5 separate regions of the Homo sapiens genome follow, and regions 1, 2, 3 and 5 are each linked to region 4. The links are contacts of gene promoters, found by promoter capture Hi-C in blood cells and fetal thymus (Javierre and others, 2016). All regions are on one chromosome and are shown on one strand. The core of a region is centred on a gene start or on the middle of the fragment in contact, and the rest is flanking DNA. Distances in the headings are between cores, read along the strand shown.

Region 1 (4,111 bases), core at 1,585-4,084, 160 kb after region 4:
AAAATATTAAAAGTTCAATTTGACTCTACATGGTCCAACCTAATTCGGGGAGAATATAAAGGGCTTACAATATGCTTGGTGCTTGTTGGGCCAATTTTGGGGTGGTTTTAGGTCCCTTTCATGCTGGGACATGATTTATTGCCTATCTTAATAACTTATTTATTATCCCACATCAGTTGCTACCTTCCACCTTTGGAATCCCAGCTCCTTTCCAGGTCCCCTTACCAGCCCACACTAGTGAAGTCCACCTCCTTGCCAAGTCCAGATCTCATTAAGCTGCACATCCCAGTTTCCACTTCCGTATTTTCTCCAGTTTGAAGTGCTCTTTTAGCCTCCTCTCTGCAAACTCACATTCATTGGTTCCTTTTGGATGTTTCAGCATACGTCTTCCTTTAAGAATCTTTCTCTGACCCTTGGCTTAACATTAAGCCCCTGTAATATTATGTAGATAATTTTAACCATATTTTTATGTACTTGTTAATCTGCTGTTTAATACTTTTTTGAACTGAAAGATGCTACGCTTCTTGAAAGGAGGCTTAGTTTCTCCTACTGTGGATCTTGAAAGGGGTCTAGTGCAGTGTTCGGTACTCAATTCGTGCTCAAAAACAATGAAAGAATGAATGATACGTTATACTGTGAATTCACTCCTTGATGACGAAGTCAGTAGGGGCTTCTTCCCAGCTCATTTCACTTTTACTTTGCTGTTTCTCCTGCACTACTATATGATAGACACCACAATTCTTTACATTCCTTTATTCTGCTGGGAATATACCTCTGAGGAATGACATATAAAAATATTTCTGAAACATTTAAAACCCATGGTCCCTTTGGATCAACTTAAAAATCTCACCTCCTCCTGAGAGATGATGCTCTCGATATATCCCCTGGGTAAAGGAAGGAGCTGCCCTGTACCCCAACCCCAACTATAACTGATATAAGAGGATCCCTCTTTGGGTAATAGTATTGAAGGTTATTACCCCAAAATGGTCACTGATTTGTTAGCCAGGCTGATCACATTCATAAATGCATAGTTAATACATAGAAAGAGATACCTATTTGTGGGGAGAGTTTGCTTAGCAAAAACATCTTGGTTTTAAAGTTTAGCAGTGTTATTTTTAGTTATAATTCATTTGTTAAGTTTAGTCAACAAACATTGGTGCCCAGAGGCTGGTCCATTAGTGTTTCCAGTTAAGGCAAAATCCAAAATTATTTTTTATACTCGCTCTCTTTTTGCTACTCTCAAAGAATGTTTACTTTTTTTTAGTTACTAAAGAGTGATTTTCCCTTTGACTCATAACCTTTTTTTATGATTTTACCTTGTTGGCAGATTTTTAACTCCTAAAATTTCCCCATGGGTTGAGGAATCACAAATGCCATTCAAAATGAATGCATGATAAACCTTTTTCTAGCCACCATTTGGGGAGGACATGTTAATTGGTGAGAACTGAGAGTTTTGTTTTTTGTTGTTGTTTTTTTTTTTTTGAGGTGGAGTTTTGCTCTTATTGCCCAGGCTTGAGTGGAATGGCGCGATCTCGGCTCACCACAACCTCCGCCTCCCGGGTTCAAGCGATTCTCCTGCCTCAGCTCCCAAGTAGCTGGTATTACAGGCATGCGCCACCACACCAGGCTAATTTTGTATTTTTAGGAAAGACGAGGTTTCTCCATGTTGGTCAGTCTGGTCTCGAACTCCTGACTTCAGGTGATCCGCCGGCCTCGGCCTCCCAAAGTGCTGGGATTACGGGCGTGAGCCACTGCGCCCAGCCGAACTGATAGCTTTTAATTGAATAAGGAAAGCTACCATTAGATGTCCCTGACTTTCATGTTTATTTTGGGTTAATGTGGAGGTTTAGGAAATATAATTGAAAATAATCAATTCTGCCTGAAGAGGAGTACTCTCTACTTGTTGATACAGAAGGTGTTGAGATCATTTTATTTTAGAGTTGTTTACACTGACTGCCTGTTTCTATCCAGTTTATTTTTCTAAGAATACATTCTTTCCTCTGCTGCTTTCCAACCCTTGACTCTTATGTGTTCCTACAGAGAAACATCTGGTGTTCCGAGAACTTTATTTTTGGTGGCAATGGAATATTTTATAAAACTCTTTTTTTGCATTGCATCTCCCAAACATAATGTAGTGTAAGTAATAAAGAGTAATTTGCAAATGTATTTAAAATGCATTGCTTTGTATGGGCATGGCTATTTTTCATGCAGTCTCTATAACATAGATGAGGCTGTCTCTAGAAGCTCTTATGAAGCTTCAGGCATGATGTCAGTTTTGCTTGTCATTGTATACCTAGCACGGAGTAAACATTGAATGAATGATAAGATGTATGTAGCTCCTTAAACAGTGACCTATATATGACTTACAGTAATTTTTTTATTTAGAGATAAATGACACAGCCTGGGCAAGATAGTGAGACCCCATCTCTACAAAATATAAATTTTAAAAAAAATTAGCCTGGCATGGTGATTACTTGGGAGGCTACTTGGGAGCTACGTGGGAGGCTGAGGCGGGAGGATTGCTTGAGCCTGGAAGATAGAGGTGGCAGTGAGCTATGATTGCACTACTGCACTCTAGCCTGGGCACAGAGTGAGACCCTGTCTCAAAAAAAAAAAAAAAAAAAAAAAGAAAAAGAAAAAGACACACAAATGTTAGCATTGTCAACATGGTTTTATAATTGGATTTTTATGTATTGAATAAGTAGTAGATGAAAATCAGTTTTGCATTCGGATGAATACAACACCTTGACAATGGATTAGATGGAATAAATGGAATTAAAGTATAAGAATAAATCATATAATTGAAATATCACATTGTATATTCAAGGTGAAGATGAAGAAATGGAATAAAACTGTCAAATTTGAAACATGAGGATAGTTGATAAAAGAAGTAAACTGCTGTTCAAATACATATTGTCTTTGCGTGTCACAATTCAAATAACAGCTGTACTACATCTATAGAGAATACTTTTTACTATATATAGCTTCTAAACGAATGTTATAAGCCACAGACTGTGTATTTGCCTATTTATAGATATTTTACTTAGCAATTTCAGTTACTCAGAAGTTTGATGTATCTAACTAGATATAGTCAGATGTGTGCTGTCCAGAACACCATATGCAAACATAAGTATTCTTAAAAAGCAATTGGGAGGAACATTACTGCTGAGAGGAATGGACAGCCAGAGAATATTTTTTAGGGAAGAATTTTTGCAAACCCCTTCAGTATCTTTTGAGGAATTTAGGTTGATTTGATGATCATCTAGCGATAGTAGATGAAATTAATGCCACCAAAGACAAATTGCAATTGATTAGAATGGCTGGTGAGTAAAACCCTCCTTGTGCCTGAGGTATAATTGTGAGTGGCAGCTTAGCAGCTTGTAAAGGCGGGTGTCTATTATATGAGAAGCTTTTTATTTCTGTGTCAGTTTATCAGACTGAAGCTGCTTCAAAAGCAGGGTTTGGTGAGAGCTTTTAGAGACATTTCACCATTGAAAATGTTTTCTGTGACTGTTTCCTAGAGGAAGGCTGGTCTAAACCTCAGGCTGTTCTTTTAAAGTGTTTTGAAAAAGTATGTGAAGTCATTGTCATGTTAAGCTTTATGACAATGTGAAGAGGAAAAACACCAAACAACTCTGTCTGGCCATGAGACACATCATGTCTTTAAATATTGTGATAAGCCTGTGTTTTGCAGAAAACTCAAATTGTGTTTTCCCTCTGCTCTCACACCACAACAAGCAACACAGAAGACTTCTGTGGCCAAATGTCTTGGGGTTTTCCCCCACCAACAAGCAGTGAACACCAGCTGGGTGTCCTCTGATTCAGTTCTGACAGTGTCTACTCAGAGATAGTGTCAGATCCCACGGGTTGAGGGCTCAGTCCCACAAGACTGCCCCCCTGTTTTAAACATCAGTCACAAGTCTGGGCTTCTGGAACTTCTGACCTACCAGCTTCAAGTTGGGGTTTCCAGGACCCCTTCTTTGGGTTTGATTAATTTGCTGGAGAGGCTCACAGAACTCAGGGGAGCACTTATATTTACCAGTTGATTATGAAGGTTATCTTAGAGGATACAAATAAACAGCCAGATGAAGAGATACATAGGGCGAGGTCT
Region 2 (4,336 bases), core at 1,198-3,697, 180 kb after region 4:
TTTCTTTAGATTTTGGAAGTGAAATTGAGCTGGAATTTCTACGTGTTTTTTGTTTCTGTTTTGTTTTATGCCCTGGGCTTCTGCTGCCTCTCAGTGCCTGTGTGGTTTAGACAGGGGGAGTTAATTTGGGGAGGAGTGGGACAAGAGGGGCCAGCTACTTTGTCTTTGGCCTCCTGTTCATGTGTGTGCAATTGGAGTTGAATCTTTTTCTGGAGGTCTTGATAAGCTGTCACAATTGGTTAATCTTTTCTTGGTTTATTAGTGCAGCTAGATAACCCAGGGTCAGGGAATGGTAACTTGTGTTCTAGCATATATGCTTGTTATTTAATGGAGTGTAAATGGATTTGGGGCATACTGAACTCAGGAGGGCACTCAGAAATGTGTTCCACTGTCCTGAGTTTTCATCTATAAGAACTTGAGTGTGTATGGATCAATTAACTGGAACTCCTCAGAAAACAGGGTGAAGTTTTGAAAGAAAGTTCAAGTTACATAAAGCATTGAATCACAAATTACTTTGTGATTTCTCAGAGGATGTCAGCGGTAAAGGCGGTAAGGCTCACATGTCAGATCTCCATGGGGAATTTTTATACCTACAAATTAAAGCCAAATTGATTACCCTGTATAGATAATAACGTAGAGTTGGAGATGCCACATAAAGAGAAAAATCTTCAGCAAGTGTGTAATTATTAGAAAACCATATACTTCTAGCTCATGATTCTTTTCTGCTTTGTGTTGGGTAGATGCAGAAAAGTTATAAGCATCAACTTAATGTGGTTGAGGCTTTCTGAACTGATCTCCATTTAACCAGTTCACTGCATTAACTGGTGTTCTCAACTCCTTCTATGACATAAGTCAACTGATGCTCATGCTGGGTGGGTTCGTTGACCATGGACATCCCAGTTGCATGCCACGCACTTCCACGCCTCCCCGTTGAGTTGTAAATTACCAAAACCAGTAGTATTTGGCTTTATAGAGTTTAGTTATTATGTAAATTGATATTATATGAACAGAAAAAATGTGCTTTCTGTGGAAGACAGAATCAGTGAAAGTGAATTCTCAAAATGTGCTTCCCAGATCAGCAGCATCAGAGTCCTCTTGAAACCTGTTAAAAATGCACATTCTCAGCCTCCACTCTAGACCTGTTATATCAGAAACTTGGCTGGGTGCGGTGGTTCACACCTGTAATCCCAGCACTTTGGGAGGCCGAGGCAGGTGGATCACCTGAGGTCAGGAGTTCGAGACCAGGCTGGCCAACATGGTGAAACCCTGTCTCTACTAAAAATACAAAAAAAAAAAAAAAAAAATCTGTGTTTTACCAAACTTTCCAGGTGATTCTGAAGCTTACTAACATTGGAGAATCACTTTCTAAAAAATACTGCCATCGAATTAAACACAGGAGAGAGAGGGATTATAAAAATAGAAGAGGTTTCTATACTCAGATTGTTTTTCAGTGACCAGTTCTTTATTCTCCTTAAAGAAACAGACATTGAAAATTCATAATGCATCATGGTGTAGTTTACATAGAAAAACAACCAGAACTCCATTCAGCAGACCATTCTCAAGGAAATGTACTTTGTGTCAGTCTAAAGATTGCAGAATGAACGAACTTTTAAATACTTTAAGTTAATGTAAAAACGTTTAAAGGTATAAGTACCCATTTTTATGATTCTCTGCTTTAATCTACTCTTTTTTTTGTTTTTTGTTTTTGTTTTTGTTTTTGTTTTTTGAGACAGAGTCTCACTCTGTCGGCCAGCCTGGAGTGTAGTGGCACAATCTTGGCTCACTGCAACCTCCATCTCCCAGGCTCAAGCAGTTCTCCTTCCTCAGCCTCCCGAGTAGCTGGGATTACAGGCGTGTTGACACCACGCCCAGCTAATTTTTGTATTTTTAGTAGAGATGGGGTTTCACCATGTTGGCCAGGCTGGTCTCGAACTCCTGACCTCAGGGTATCTACCTGCCTTGGCCTCGTAAAGTGCTGAGATTACAGGCGTGAGCCACTGCGCCCGGCCTAATCTACTCTTTAAACTCATTGTCCAGCTAGCCAAGCCTGTTTATAAGAGAGGAGGACTTTGACTATATTTGATAAATATAATAGCCAAGGCTGATAGGCACCCAGATATGCTGGAAGAGCTGTCAGCCAGTGTCTGTTATGAAATGTATTTCTGTTATGAAATGTATCTCATTTAATACTTGCTGCAACTTTATGAGGTAGGTACCCATTTTGCAGATGGGAGGGAGTGAAATTTGGAAATTATACAGCTAATTCAATGACAACACCAGAATTTAAACCTAGGCAGGCTTCAGATTGTTCTGGTGTGGCAAAGTCTAAATTTCAATGAACAGAAATATATATATATATATATATATATTTGTTGTTGTTGTTCTTGTTGTGTTTTGTTTCTTCAAGACAGGTCTCACTGTGTCACCCAGGTTGGAGTGCAGTGGCATGATCATGGTTCACTGCAATCTGGACTTCCTGGGCTCAAGTAATCCTCCTACCTCAGCCTCCCGAGTAGCTGGGACTATAGGTGTATGCCACCACGCCTGGCTAATTTTTGTGTTTTTTTATAGAGATGAGGTTTTGCCATGTTGTCCAGGCTGGTCTTGAACTCTTGGCGCTGAAGCAGTTTCCACCTCAGCCTCCCAAAATGCTTGGATTAGAGGTGTGAGCCACCACACCCAGCAGAAATATATATGTTGATATAGAATATTTTGCATTGGGTATTCAGAGAACAAGTTAATTTGACAGCTGTGGTGAGGCCTTCTAACACTCACCGTAAACTTTCCTATGTCCCAAAGTATCTCTAATAATAACGTTAATAATTAATAGTATATACAACCCATCCTTTTCTGAAGGAAAGTTCAGAACTTTCTTTAGAACATCTACTGTGAATTGGGAACCAAAAAAAAAAAAAGCAAATGTATTGGTATTGCTAGGGTTACCATAGCATAGTACCACAGACTGGGTGCCTTCAACATGGGTACCCATGTTGAAGGTTGAATATTTTCTCACTACCCTGGAGGCTGGAAGTCCGAGATCAAGGTGTGGGCAGGTTTGGTTTCCTCTGAGACTTCTCTCCTTGGCTTGTAGATGACTGTCTTCTCCCTGCGTCTTCTCATTGTCTTCCTTCTCTGTGTGTCTCTGTCCGGATTTCCTTGCTTATAAAGACACCAGTCATAATGCATTAGGTCCCATTGTAATGACATCATTTTAACTTTAACCTTTTTCAAGCTCCTATCTCCAGATGTCGCATTCTGAGGTACTGAGGGTTAAGGCTTCAATATGGAAATTTAGGGTGTGGGGACATGATTCCATTCATAACAATAGCTAAGATGCTTTTAGATATTTAGAGCTTCTCCCAAAGGTTGAGATCTTTGATTTTGATTTGAGATTTGAAAAACCTTGACTTTACTCTTTGATATAATTAGGGCAGAGTTCATAGCACCAGGCTATTTTAAATCCAGGTGACAGCAGCTTCTTAGTGGGTTTTAGGAGGGTAATATATTTGGGTAGCAGAATGGATTCTACCCTTCAAATACCAGTTAAAGCTTCTTTGATGATTTAGAATTACATATGTTGGGCCAGGTGCAATGGCTCACGCCTGTAATCCCAGCACTTTGGGAGGCCCAGGCAGGCGGATCACCTGAGGTCAGGAGTTCGAGACCAGCCTGATCAACATGGAGAAACCCTGTCTCTACTAAAAATACAAAATTAGCCAGGCATGATGGTGCATGCCTGTAATCCCAGCTACTTGGGAGGCTGAGGCAAGAGAATCACTTGAACCCAGGAGGCAGAGGTTGTGGTGAGCCGAGATTGCGCCATTGCACTCCAGCCTGGGCAACAGAGCCAAATTCTGTCTCAAAAAAAAAAAAAAAAAAAAAAAAAATAAATTTACATGTGTTAAGTCCTAACTAATTAAAAAGTTTGTCATAAAAAATTCTAACTACAGGAATTCTTGTTATGGGGGAAAATGTGTAACACTTGAAATGCAAATAATCTTCTTTTATATCAAGCTAATTATGCAGCCATTAGTTCAAGCCCTGCCTTCTGCTGTCTTTTATATATAGCTCTCCTGTGAGGTCTCTTCCTGAAAACTCTTCACTGGTCTGGTAAGGGGAACAGGGAATTCTCTCTTAACTCTGCTGCTGCCTCTTGAAAGAAGGAAACAATGACTGGAAAGATAAAATATGCTCTATCTGTGGTTGATTTTTGACCCCTAATTAGGTTTCATCTGTAGGTTCACTAACAGCGTTTTCCTACCATATGTAAAATTAAACAGTAATGCTTTCTCCATAACTTAATTTGCATGCTCGAATCCCTTGTGGATCAGCAGCA
Region 3 (4,549 bases), core at 1,946-4,445, 200 kb after region 4:
CAGTGATCCTGATAATTTTTTTAAAGTTTTAAAAATAATTTTAAAATTCTAGAGTCTTGTACATATGTATTTTTAACCTGTGAACATGTTATATGAGAGTCATATCTTAAAGTAAAAGATTTTTTAGCTCTTCCATGTGTCGGATATTGAAGTGGGTGCTGAAGATACAACAGGATTGAGGACTGGGCCTGACCTGAGAGGGCTGATCATGTAAATACTGGTTATTATTCTCCTGGGCTGCTAAGCTAGTTGAATCTTAGGGAAAGGTTTTTAAGAGTTGTGCCCTCACTGACATCTGAGATAAGAAATGAAGATGTCTAGTATATTCTTAGCTCAGACACTGGTGAAAAGGTGATTGAAGACTTAGAGGAAATTGAGAAAGGGCTAAAAAGCTTTTATGTGATTCTTGGCATGCAGCTCGTGAAAGATTTTGGTCTGCTCCCTTTTTACTGGCCCTTCTCATTTATCTTAAGTGTCATTTGAAAATGTATGTTTCTTAATGCAGTAATTGTGAAGAGGGTCACCCCAATAACCATATATTATCTTTCCGCAAACATGAAGAAAACTAAGCTACCAACCACCAAAAAAAAAAAACCAAACCCAGGGATTCATGCCTGGCAGCCTCCAGGTCTTTGGAACAGGGAAGATGTAATGGAATTTCCTGTTTTAATTGTGAAGACTTACTGAATTCCGGGGGCATTCTTGACCTTCCCGTAGTTGATTAATCTCTCCTAATTGAAGTCTCCTGACTCATCTACTTTATTTTTAAATTTTTATATTTGGAGAGAATCACTGCTTACTTTTTATTTTTATTTTATTGTTATTTATTTATTTATTTATTTATTTATTTATTTAGGGACAGTGTTTCAATCCCATCGCCTAGGCTGGGGTACAGTGGCACAATCTTGGCTCACTGCAGTCTCCACTTCTGTGGCTCAAGCGATTCTCCTGCCTCAGCCTCCTGAGTAACTGGGAATACAGGCACCTGCGACCATGCCTGGCTAATTTTTGTAATTTTTTTGTAGAGACAGGGTTTCGCCATGTTGCCCAGGCTGGTCTTGAACTTCTGAGCTCAAGTGATCCACCTGCCTCAGCCTCCCAAAGTGCTGTGATTAGAGGCGTGAACCACCATGCCTGGCCTTGCTTACTTCTTAAAATTGTGGAATATATATGAAGGTGATAAAACATACGTAAAACATATGTGCAGGCTGGGTGTGGTGGCTCACACCTGTAATCCCAGCACTTTGGGAGGCTGAGGCAAGAGGATCGCTTGAGCCCAGGAGTTTGAGACCAGCCTAGGCAATGTAGTGAGACCCCATCTCTATTTTTTTTTAATTAAAAAAAGAAGAAATATGTACAATTAAAGAATAATAATAGAAATGAATATCCACATACCCTCTATCTAGCTGAAAACACAGATAACCCATGTTTTAGAAGAGTGGACCCAAAGGAGTGTCCTTCTAAATAACCTCACTTTCCTGATTTTTATGGTTATCATTTCTTTCTTTTTTTTTTTTTTTTAAGTTTTTCATTTAACTATTTATCCCCAAGCAATATATTTTTAGTTTTGCCCTTTTTGGTGAATTAATGTAATAGAATCATGTTGAATATATTATTCACGGGCTTGCTTTCTTCTTTCAACATTATTTTTTTCAGATTCATCCACATTGATGTGTGAAACTGTGGTTAATGTCCTTCCACTGCTGTAAACTGTTGCATTGTATGGAGTACCATGGTTTATTTTTCCATCCTCCAGGTTTGTTTCTTCACTGGTGTTTGGAAAACAACATGGACTCCAAACTCCTCAAGTCACCTTGCCACAGATCCCTTGAGTTGGGGGTTGGGAATTTCCAAATTGTTGGCTTTCCTTAGTGGAAATACTAGATGTTCTCATTTCTGGAGACCTTCTAGAGAATGGACTGTGATGGACTTTTGCAGGGGCTGTTAGCTGTTGACCTGAGTCTCCTGGGTCTGGAGTTAAAGCCCTGTGTCTGCAGGATCTTGTCGATGAGCCCTCCCCTGGGGTCACTCCTTCTAGTGACTTGAAATAAGTTAAATTGGACTTGAAGTGAGTTAAATTGTTGTGGGCCCAAAAATGCTTCCAGTGTTGTTAATTAAAAGTTCAATGTATTGTGTTTGATGCCCCTTTTTACCTGATTTAAAAGCTTAAGTTTCTCTTTGGATTAATCAATAAAAGTACTTCTATAAGTAAACTCTGCAGATTTTTTAGTCACTCAACTAATAGGACTTGCAGGAAAAGTGAAATGTCTATAAGCAAAAAACAAAACTTCTACTGGGGGAAGCTTTGGAGCTTTAGGTAGATTGGGGCCAGCCAAGAGCCCAAGTGGTTTAACCAGAAGCAGGCTAGTCTTCAGAGCACAGGACGACACCAAGAGTTTTTGTTCTTCCCACTCTTGGCTTTCCAAGGGCATTCTCCTCCCTTCCTCTCTCCCCACCTTGATTCTCATCAGTTATTGGCAGATGTTCTGTTCTATTGTGTCCTCACTGAGGGAGTCAGTGAAGGGGCACACCCATTGTCTCATTTTAAAATACCCCAATGGAAATGATCAAAGTGCGAATAAAAAGCTCAGCTGTTTGCATTTATTTTCAAATGTAGAAAAACTTTCTGGAAAGATTGTACTAAGGGGTTACTGGCATCATTGTTATGGTCCTCTGACATTTTTAAAAGTAGGTCTCTGAGTATGTTTTTCCTCCTTCATAAAGTGAAGACTGTGAGTCTATTTTTCTGTATTAGCTGGTTATTGTTACTTGAGATTTGTCAGCTTTCCTTGAAGTGTGTTCCCTTGAACTGGATGCTAATGTTTGCCATGCAGGGAAGAATGTCTCTGCAGTAAAATAAAGTTAAATCAGTTTATTTACTGCACAACTTCTCAGTGCACTTGATATGCTACCATGCTTTGGGAATTTTTAAGTTGGGGGCTTATAGAGGCAGGCATTAAAAAACATGTTTGATTATGGGACCCCCTACTCTGAACTACACTAACATTAGTGTGTCTTGCTGCAGTAATCCTTCTCTGAATATCTTTGGGAAAGGTGTCATTTATGTATTTTTCATTGTTTCCATTGGTTCCATTTGCCTAGTAGGCCTCAGGATTGCAGTGGAATTTTTCCAGTACCTTAAGATAGCATTTATCTTGGAGGATATGACCCTTTAAGGGCAAACTTATTTGCAGTTCACTTTCAATTTACAATGTTTATTCTAAGCAATGCATATTACTTTTTTTTTTTTTTTTTTGAGACATAGTCCTGCCCTATCACCCAGGCTGGAGTGCAGTGGTGCAATCTCGGCTCACTGAAGCCTCTTCCTCCCTGGTTCCAGAGATTCTCCTGCCTCAGCCTCCTGGGTAGCTGGGATTACAGGTGCACGCCCCCAGGCCCAGCTAATTTTTGTATTTTTAGTAGAGACAGGGTTTCACCATGATGGCCAGGCTGGTCTCGAACTCCGGACCTCAGGTAATCCACCCACCTCGGCCTCCCAAAGTGCTGGGATTACAGGCGTGAGCCACCGCACCCAGCCGCATATTACTTTTACATGAAAGTAGAGTGAATAGGTAGTTTTGTAAATTGATGAAAAGAATAAGGTCTCAGCTTTGAAAGGATATTCATTGTCCTTGGAATGGTATTCCAGAAAAGTAGGAAGCTAACCAAAAGGCCCAGACCAAAATTTTCTTTTTAATGTCTCAAGCAGAGAAAGATTTTGTGTATAGAAACACTAATGAAAATGATTGTTCTCCTTGATGATTGTAAAAGAAAAAAGTGTTCTTCCTATCCTCTCTCCTTCCCACCTTTCATTTTTGGTAAGTGGGGGAGAAGTGAAGGTGAAGATGCTAGGAATGCTAATTTACCTTGTATTTTTTTTTTAGACATGTTTCATGACAGGTTTGAGGCCTGCTGATTTGGGCATACCCAGTTGCACCTTTTCATTTCGTGCCTCATTGGAGTATGTTTTCTTCTGTTGGTCACTCCTGTTTTCTTGACCTGGACCATGTAATAGAGACTGGGACGAAAACTACATGTAATTACACCCTTTTGGTCAAAACACTAAAACAGAAACCAAGCAAGCTTAATCCTAAATCATTGAAATTGTCTAGAATCTTTATCTAAAATAAATCCTAATCCAACAAAAAATTTTCTTCTAACTCAACCTGCTGCTTATGTCTTCCCTTCCATGAGTATTTTAATAGAAGTTAATTTTTCAGATCACTGGAGCTTATTCCTTCAAACACTGGTCCTGCACTGTTTTGCTGTATTTCTTCACTGTCGTAGCAGAGCCAGAGGCTGCTGGATGTCATCATGAGCATCCATTATTTTCCACATGGTGAAAGGGGCTTGGGTTGCCCTCAGCTTTCACCTCTTGTCACAGTATTGGGCTGCCAGGAGACACCGTTCGGCTGCCACCCTGTCTCACAGCCCTGCTTGTTAGCTGTCGTATCTGCTGTGTGTGCTGGAAAACTAGATAATAGAACAGGTCAAATCAGGGTAGGTAAAGCAGCCACTGAGTGCATTAGGAGTGGAGACATGGCTGACC
Region 4 (4,608 bases), core at 2,109-4,608:
GCCAAGAACCTGGACAACTTGTAGTCAAACCTTCTACTGGTAACAGTGTCACTAAATATTTTTCAAAAGCAAGATTTTTAAATAGCTGTATAATGTTGTAATGTGGCAGTACAATTATTATTTAGTCTTTCTCCTGCTATTAGAGTCAGCATTCATTCAGCAATTTAAGTACTATTGGGTGTGCTAGCAGATAAAGGTTTATTGATTATTGAAGATAATCCTTTTCTCAGGCATCACAGGTTGTAGGGGTAGGGACTGAACATTGAACTTCATATGGTATGGCTGTCTTAGGGGTACAGGCAGGGAGCTGTCAGCTTATAACTGGTCATTTAAACCACGAGGAAGTGAAGATGGCATTGCTCAGGGAAACAGGTAGGAAGCTAAGAGAAAAAGACTGAAGGTGGCACCCTGAGGAACACTCAATTGCATTGAACTTGAGATGCACTCAAATCTCTAGATCCCCATTTCCAAACATACATCTCCACTCATTTTTGTATGGACTTACTCAAAAAATTCAAAAACAGCCATTCTTCCTCTTGCCACCACATCCCTCACCCCTGAGATGCCAAGAACATGGAGCTTAAAAATTAGAGTGGTGGTCAGAGACGCCCCTGGGAGGAGGGCAAGGCTGGAAGCAAAGCCCATTCTGTGTGGCTTGTTCATCTTCCTTTCCCTTACATCATTGTCAGGTAGTCTGAGTTGTAATTGGATCATTAAACTTGTTCTGGGATTCCTTCTAAACTGCATGTGTCTGGCACATTTGCCCCACCTGCACAACCAGGAGCCCACCTGTCTAAGCACTGACTCCCCCTAACTCATGCTCCCCCTGTGCTCTCTTCTCTGCTGGAACCATCCTGAGCTGGGTCCCCACTCTCCTTCCACTATAGTATGGTACTTTTTCATAGGGCAGCCATTGACCACTTTGGAAACTAGACGTTCTGCTCTTCAAGCCCTTTGCCCCCACAACTCTCAGGGCTTGTTCTAGGTGGAAGCAGGAAAAGATGGGCATGCTAGTCCAGGACCCTCTATAGAAGGAATATCGGAGGGAAGCACAGGGTAAATCCATGGAGGCCCAGCCATGGAGGAGGAAATGATAGTCATAGGAAATGCCAAATGTCAGAGTGAGATTCAAGACATATTTGTTATTAATCAATTATGCAATGGTGTGATTGCATAAATAATGTGATTTTAGTTGGTTGTTTATTTGGGATGGAAATGTAGTCAGAAATTATTAAGTTGGTTATTGTGTCCCAGTACGCAATCTTTGAGTCAAATGACATTTGATTAGAAAATGTTCTTTCTTGTCTTACATTAAAGCTCTTTCCAGGGGCCTCAACAGGGGATAAAATATTGTGTTTTCTCAGAAATCTAGCAAATCAGAAGGTGAATGTTCATGATTATGATCTCTAAAGGAAAAGAAATTCTCTAATACAAGGTTTTGTTAAGCACAATGTTCACATAAGACATTTGAGGGAGAACCCCTTAAAAATAAGAGTTTAGGGCCAGGCACGGTGGCTCATGCCTGTAATCCTAGCACTTTGGGAGGCTGACGCGAAAGGTCAGAAGTTTGAGACCAGCCTGGCCAACATGGTGAAACCTCATCTCTACTAAAAATACAAAACTTAGCCAGGCATGGTCACGGGTGCCTGTAATCCCAGCTACTCAGGAGGCTGAGGTGGGAGAACCGCCTGAACCCAGGAGGTGGAGGCTGCAGTGAGCCGAGATCGCGCCACTGCACTCCAGCCTGGTGACAGAGCAAGACTCTGTCTCAAAAAGAAAAAAAAAAAAAAGAAAGAAAAAGAAAAATGAGAGATTATAATACCACAATGGATTCTTCACACAGATTATGCTATCCCTTGTTTGAAGATTTTCCAACATATGGCAAATTCTCTTTGTTTTTGGTCTTAACTGAGATTGGAAAAACTGAACTTAGTGTCATTTGAGGGAATTATTATAATGCAGTGTTTCTCAAACTTGGCTGTACATTATAATCACCTGGGGAGCTTTTATAAATCCCAGCTGTCCAGACCACACCATGGGCCAATTAAACTTTTCGGGTGCGACCCAGGTGTTTACCATGTGCAAAGAAGTTTGAAAATGACTAAAATAGGTAACTCTGAAGTCAAACTGCCTGGCTTCAAATTCCAGGCCAGCCACTTCCTAGCCATGTGACCCTGGGCAAGATATTTGATTTCTATGAATTCTATCAGAAAAAAAGACAATAAAAATAACATATTTTTGTAGGATTGCTATGAGGTTTAAACAAGATAATCTATGTAAATTATTTATTAATTTGCTGCAAAAGTAATCACGGTTTTGCCATTAAAAGTGATGGCAAACACTGCGAATCCTTTTCACCAACCTAACACAATGGGGCAGGCATATGTGAATTCCATAGGCTGGGCACAGTGGCTCACACCAGCACTTTGGGAGGCCAAGGGGTGGGGAGGAATGTGAACAATTTTCACAAGTTCAAGACCAGCCTAGGCAACATAGTGAGACCTCCTCTCTACAAAAAAATTAAAAAATTAGCCTAGTGTGATGGTGCATGCCTGTAGTCCCAGCTACTGAAGTGGGAGGATTGCTTGAGCCTGGGAGATGGAGGCTGCAGTGAGCTGTGATCGTGCCCCTGCACTCCAGCCTGGGTGACAGAGTGAGACTTTGTCTTAAAAAACAAAAAAATGAAGTTCTATGGTAATTATTATTAACTAACAGCTTTCTTATTTCATATTAATTACTCTGCAAGACACTTCCAGCATGGTTGCCCCATCTGACACTCATTCACCTCGTTGATTTTTTTTTGTTGTTGTTGTTGTTCTATAACATTCATTCATGCACAAATTCATTTTACAAGTATGTATTCATCTAACATTGACTTAACTATGAGTATGACAGAAGACACAAAAGAAATGTACACATCTGCCTCACCTCCCTTGGAGTTTATCTTCTCTAGTGTGTTCGTGTTTTCCGGTTCAGATCATAAGCATCATGAGCTAAGGGACCATGTTTTATGCCCGGACAGCCGTAGCACCCGGCGCTGCGGATTGGAGACACTGCTAGGCACCCGGGCTGGAAGATTGGGTTCTAGTTCTTGTTTTGCCGCTTACAGGCTGGGTGACAGGGAGCAATCCTGTTGTCCTCAATAGGTGTGTTTCCTCATCTGAAAGTGTACACAATCCATCCATGACTGCTGTGACGATTACAGGTCTACACAACGCGCATGTGGATTTGTCTTGCAAACGTCCACCATCAGGCCCTCAGGAAACAGTGCCGCGCGTGCCCACCAAGGGGCAGCAGATCGCAGTGCAGAGGCCCGCGGCGCTCGACGTCAGGGCGCACGTCCCACCCCGTGACCATGACTGTGACCGTGACCGAGAGCGTCGCTGGGGCACGGCCAGGCGGCGCGGCGGGAGTGCACAGGACGCGCCATGGCGGCCGAAGCCTCGGAGAGCGGGCCAGCGCTGCATGAGCTCATGCGCGAGGCGGAGATCAGCCTGCTCGAGTGCAAGGTGTGCTTTGAGAAGTTTGGCCACCGGCAGCAGCGGCGCCCGCGCAACCTGTCCTGCGGCCACGTGGTCTGCCTGGCCTGCGTGGCCGCCCTGGCGCACCCGCGCACTCTGGCCCTCGAGTGCCCATTCTGCAGGCGAGCTTGCCGGGGCTGCGACACCAGCGACTGCCTGCCGGTGCTGCACCTCATAGAGCTCCTGGGCTCAGCGCTTCGCCAGTCCCCGGCCGCCCATCGCGCCGCCCCCAGCGCCCCCGGAGCCCTCACCTGCCACCACACCTTCGGCGGCTGGGGGACCCTGGTCAACCCCACCGGACTGGCGCTTTGTCCCAAGACGGGGCGTGTCGTGGTGGTGCACGACGGCAGGAGGCGTGTCAAGATTTTTGACTCAGGGGGAGGATGCGCGCATCAGTTTGGAGAGAAGGGGGACGCTGCCCAAGACATTAGGTACCCTGTGGATGTCACCATCACCAACGACTGCCATGTGGTTGTCACTGACGCCGGCGATCGCTCCATCAAAGTGTTTGATTTTTTTGGCCAGATCAAGCTTGTCATTGGAGGCCAATTCTCCTTACCTTGGGGTGTGGAGACCACCCCTCAGAATGGGATTGTGGTAACTGATGCGGAGGCAGGGTCCCTGCACCTCCTGGACGTCGACTTCGCGGAAGGGGTCCTTCGGAGAACTGAAAGGTTGCAAGCTCATCTGTGCAATCCCCGAGGGGTGGCAGTGTCTTGGCTCACCGGGGCCATTGCGGTCCTGGAGCACCCCCTGGCCCTGGGGACTGGGGTTTGCAGCACCAGGGTGAAAGTGTTTAGCTCAAGTATGCAGCTTGTCGGCCAAGTGGATACCTTTGGGCTGAGCCTCTACTTTCCCTCCAAAATAACTGCCTCCGCTGTGACCTTTGATCACCAGGGAAATGTGATTGTTGCAGATACATCTGGTCCAGCTATCCTTTGCTTAGGAAAACCTGAGGAGTTTCCAGTACCGAAGCCCATGGTCACTCATGGTCTTTCGCATCCTGTGGCTCTTACCTTCACCAAGGAGAATTCTCTTCTTGTGCTGGACACAGCATCTCATTCTATAAAAGTCTATAAAGTTGACT
Region 5 (4,458 bases), core at 461-2,960, 250 kb after region 4:
TTTTTTTTTTGGCAAGAGAGAGAGAACATTGCGTATAACTTACTAGTCTTTTATAATGTAAAAAAATGCCTGTTTCCCTGCGAGATCTTAATGCCATTAAGTACATCAATAAGTAATTATAAAGTGACTACTATAAACATTGCAGGCTTCAAAGATGAATTCGATATGGATCCTGCTTTCAGGGAACTTAGTCTACAAGTGGAGATGAAACATATATACAGGCCGGGCACAGTGGCTCATGCCTGTAATCCCAGCACTTTGGGAAGCCAAGGTGGGAGGATTGCTTGAACCCAAGAGTTTGATACCAGTCTGGGCAACATGGCGAAGTCCCATCTCTACAAAAAACACAAAAATTAGTTGGGCATGGTGGCATGTGCCTGTAGTCCCAGCTACTCAGGAGGCTGAGGAGGTAGGATCAATTGAGCTGATTGAGGCTGCAGTGAGCCATGATAGTGCCAGTGCACTCCAGTCTGGGCAACAGAGGGAGACCCTGTCTCTGAATGAATGAATGAATGAATGAATGAATGAATGCTGTCTCACACACACAGATCATATACATGATAAATGAAAAATAAAATAATTGAGATAGGAGCCATAAAAAAGGACTAAACAGTGTTGTAAGGTTTCAGAGAAAGAAAAGATGATTCCTTTGGATTTAACCAAGAATGCTTCTGGGAGGAAAAATGTATCGAACTGGGCCTTAAGGGGTATGACGTATTTTGAAGGGTGGAAATGAAGGAGAGAACAAGGACAGAGATGAAATTATACTTAGTAATTCTGAGGTAAGGACAAGTTCCACTGGAGCATGAGGAATTTGGGGTTAATAGGCTGGGAGGGCCTATTGTGGCTAGTCTCAAATGCCAGGCCAAAGAGCATGGGTTCTGTATGCTCAGTGCTTAAGATCTCTTGGAAGTGATTAAGCATTAAAGGATCCTGCCCATGGGAGGTTTGTAATTTGCTGTTTGGACTGCAAGAGATAAAGGGCAATAGCAGTGAGCCCAGGAAGGTAGCTGCTGAGTCACCTGGGCTGCATTTGCTAAGGGATATGCTGAGAAGTAGTAGTTCCAAGGCATGTTAATAAGTGTTAGTCCAAAAAGGGTCTCCTCACCAAAATGAATTGGGGAAATAAAATGTTAAACAATCAAATAGGCTTCTTTCCTGGACTTCATTTCTGAAAAGTCTCTGGAAGACTTTTTAGAGCCTTTAATATTGAGAATTTCATTGAGAATCTCAAATAGGATAAAACGTGCACCACTTCCAACATGATTTGGTCTTTTTTCATGGAGTAGCTCATGAAACTCTGGTTCCTTAGAACACACTTTGGGGAACATTGCTCTACACATTTGATAATAACAGCTGGAACACAAGTGGTGGTAATGGGCATGAAAAACAGCAGTTAGGGCCAGGCATGGTGGCTCACGCCTGTAATCTCAGCACTTTGGGAGGCTGAGGCAGGCAGATCATTTGAGGTCAGGAGTTTGAGTCCACCCTGGCCAACATGGTGAGACCTCGTCTCTACTAAAAATACAAAAATTAGCTGGGCATAGTGGTGCGTGCCTGTAGTCCCAGCTACTTGGGAGGCTGAGGCAGGAGAATTGCTTGAACCCAGGAGGCAGAGGCTGCAGTGAGCTGAGATCATGCCACTGCACTGCAGCCTGGGTGACAGAGTGAGACTCTGTCTCAAAAAAAAAAAAAAAAGGAAAAGAAAAAACAGCAGTTTGATGGGAGTCCTTACAGGGGAAGCACCAAGAAGCACCAGCCATTCCCGGTATATAGTAGGCATTCAGTAGCTATACAGAAAGTTAATTCATGTAAAAGTGAATTAATGATTTCATACCAGTAGATGTTGGTGTGGATGCGGTCAACAGGGAACACTTTTACATTGCTAGTGGAAATGTAAACTAGTACAACCACTATGGAAAACAGTGTGGAGATTCCTTAAAGAACTAAAAGTAGAACTACCATCTGATCCAACAATCCCACTCCTGGGTATCTATCCAGAGGAAAATAAGTCATTATACGAAAAAGATACTTGCACATGCATGTTTATAGTGGCACAGTTCACAATCGCAAAATCGTGGAACCAACCCAAATGTCCATCAGTCAACAAGTGGATAAAGGAACCATGCTGTGTGTGTGTGTGTGTGTGTGCGTGCGTGTGCGTGTGTGTGTGTGTGGTGGAATACTACTTAGCCATAAAAAGGAATGAATTAACGGCATTTGCAGCGACCTGCATGAGATTGGAGACTATTGTTCTAAATGAAGTAATTCAGGAATGGAAAACCAAACGTTGTATGTCCTCACTGATATGTGGGAGCTAAGCTATGAGGACAGAAAGGCATAAGAATGATACAGGGGAGTTTGGGGATTTGAGGGGAAGAGTGGGAGAGGGGCGAGGGATAAAAGACTACAAATATGATGCAGTGTACACTGCTCAGGTGATGGGTGCACCAAAATCTCACAAATCACCACTAAAGAACTAACTCATGTAACCAAATACCACCTGTACCCCAATAACTTATAGAAAAATAAAAAAAGATAAAACATGAAATTAGCCAGGCATGGTGGCGAGCACCTGTAGTCCCAGCTACCCAGGAGGCTGAAGGCAGGAGAATTACTTGAGCCCGGGAGGCAGAGGTTGCGGTGAGCCGAGATCGCACCACTGCACTCCAGCCTGGGCAACAAAGCGAGACTCCAACTCAAAAAAAATTAAAATTTAAAAAATATGAAGAGATACTTTTACATGTAAAAGACATGCCAAATACTAAACATGTAAAATTGCTAAACATGTAAAGTTGCTTCACATCTTTACTTTTCGAGGAATTGTATATTAAAAATACAGTAAGAACCCCCCCCACCACCACCAAAAAACAAAAACAAAAACAAAAACATGCTTTGCTGGAGATTGCCTGCAGAGACAGAAGGGGAAAGGAGTGCAGGATGGGAATATGGAGAGTTTTGAACTTCAGTATGCTACAGATGATATCATGGAAAGCTAGGAGAAGGAACTGCTTTATATGAAAGTTGAGTATTGAGAAGCTGAGGGAGATCGACCTGGAAGGTTCCATGGTTGCTGAAACCATGGACTTGCGAGAGAAGATATTGTTTTTGTTTTTTGTGTTTTCTCATCAGATGTATTGTGGAAAAAAATATCTCGTTAAAATGTCTGGTTATTTGAATTCTAGATAAATAGTAATTTTCATATACAACTTATTCTAATACAGAAAGCTAACCATATATTTAGTCTAAAAGAAATATCATAGGGCCAGGCGCGATGGCTCACACCTATAATCCCAGTACATTTTGGGAGGCAGAAGAGAGAGGATTACTTGAGGCCAGGAGTTCGAGACCAGCCTGAGCAATAGGGCAAGACCTCCTGTCTGCAACAATTTTTTTTTTAATTGCTCGATATGGTGGCATGCACTGGTGGTCCTAGCTACTCAGGAGGCTGAAGCAGGAGGATCCCTTGAGCCCAGGAGTTTGAGGCTTCAGTGAGCTGTGATAGTTCAACTGCACTCCAGCCTGGATGACCCTGTCCCCCAAAAAAGAGGAAAATAAGAAATTTTATGGTTAACAAAAGCACCAAACCTATAGTGATTTTTTTCAGTCAGACAGTAGTGGCCATCCTTCTCATCTTCACCTGTGATTTATTTTAGTCTGATTTACTCATAAGAAGTTAATTAATCTTTAAGTTTAATATTTTGTTCTTTCATTCAGGTATTTGCCTTTGATTATTGCTTTTGGTCCATGGATGAATCTAACACTACAAAATACGCTGGTAAGTTTTCTCCCTCTACACCTGACAGTTGGGCTTCTGGCCTCTTCTTCCATTGAGTTTATTTTCTTTAATTCCTCTGGAGTTTTACTTTCCCTGTGTAATTCACACCTGTTCTTTCCAATTATACCACATGAGTTTTGAAGTCAATAAGATTTGGTTTCAGAATCTGGGTCTGCCACTTACTTGTAAAATCCTTGAACAGATTTTTATTAAGCTTCAAATTGTTCACCTGACCTCCTTGTGGTATTTTATCCTCATTCCATCCAACACAAATGACTGCTGTTTTATAATTTATGACCATAGGCTTTCCTAGGAGTCAGTCACAATTGCTTTAGTTCCAGAGGGAAGCATTTGGTTTGGTGGAGGAAGTTTTTGGTTCTTTTGCTTCTGATTATGCCCCCTTTTTCTTAGATATTTCATCTTTTTAAAAATTTATTTTTCGTCCGGGCATGGTGGCTCACATCTGTAATCCCAGCACTTTGGGAGGCCGAGGTGGGCGGATCACTTGAGGTCAGGAGTTCAAGACCAGCTTGAATAACATAGCAAAACCCCGTCTCTACTAAACATACAAAACTTATTCAGGTGTGGTGGTGGGCGCCTGTAATCCCAGCTACTTGGGAGGCTGAGGCGGGAGAATGCCTTGAGCCCAGGAGGCAGAGGTTGCAGTGAGCCGAGGTCCC

Evidence for each region. The method cuts DNA at HindIII sites, captures the fragments that hold promoters and counts their contacts. A CHiCAGO score of 5 or more calls a contact.
Region 1: a contact is called between a fragment that was not itself captured here and the fragment with the promoter of NHLRC1 in region 4, in 4 of 17 cell types (megakaryocytes, M1 macrophages, erythroblasts and 1 more). The highest score is 9.3, in megakaryocytes.
Region 2: a contact is called between a fragment that was not itself captured here and the fragment with the promoter of NHLRC1 in region 4, in 6 of 17 cell types (megakaryocytes, M2 macrophages, M1 macrophages and 3 more). The highest score is 8.2, in megakaryocytes.
Region 3: a fragment that was not itself captured here is called in contact with the fragment with the promoter of NHLRC1 in region 4 in 8 of 17 cell types (M1 macrophages, M2 macrophages, monocytes and 5 more); the score reaches 8.2 in M1 macrophages.
Region 5: a contact is called between a fragment that was not itself captured here and the fragment with the promoter of NHLRC1 in region 4, in 7 of 17 cell types (M2 macrophages, M1 macrophages, megakaryocytes and 4 more). The highest score is 10.6, in M2 macrophages.

What each region holds. Positions count from the first base shown.
Region 1 is chr6:17,957,394-17,961,504 of GRCh38, reverse strand. The region is part of intron 2 of KIF13A (kinesin family member 13A); the gene reads left to right. Among named protein-coding and RNA genes, the nearest start is that of KIF13A, 28 kb to the left of the region's middle. The HindIII fragment of the contact is 1,154 bases long and covers 2,258-3,411 here.
Region 2 is chr6:17,940,369-17,944,704 of GRCh38, reverse strand. All of the region lies in intron 2 of KIF13A (kinesin family member 13A), which reads left to right. Among named protein-coding and RNA genes, the nearest start is that of KIF13A, 45 kb to the left of the region's middle. RefSeq lists an enhancer at 4,268-4,336. The HindIII fragment of the contact is 2,209 bases long and covers 1,343-3,551 here.
Region 3 is chr6:17,919,581-17,924,129 of GRCh38, reverse strand. The region is part of intron 2 of KIF13A (kinesin family member 13A); the gene reads left to right. Among named protein-coding and RNA genes, the nearest start is that of KIF13A, 66 kb to the left of the region's middle. The HindIII fragment of the contact is 1,780 bases long and covers 2,306-4,085 here.
Region 4 is chr6:18,121,427-18,126,034 of GRCh38, reverse strand. NHLRC1 (NHL repeat containing E3 ubiquitin protein ligase 1) reads left to right here and starts at 3,358. Exons shown (of 1, transcript NM_198586.3): 1 at 3,358-4,608. The coding sequence starts at 3,429. The HindIII fragment of the contact is 6,107 bases long and covers 1-4,054 here.
Region 5 is chr6:17,872,697-17,877,154 of GRCh38, reverse strand. It overlaps KIF13A (kinesin family member 13A), which reads left to right. Exons shown (of 39, transcript NM_022113.6): 4 at 3,718-3,778. Among named protein-coding and RNA genes, the nearest start is that of KIF13A, 110 kb to the left of the region's middle. The HindIII fragment of the contact is 4,568 bases long and covers 1-3,994 here.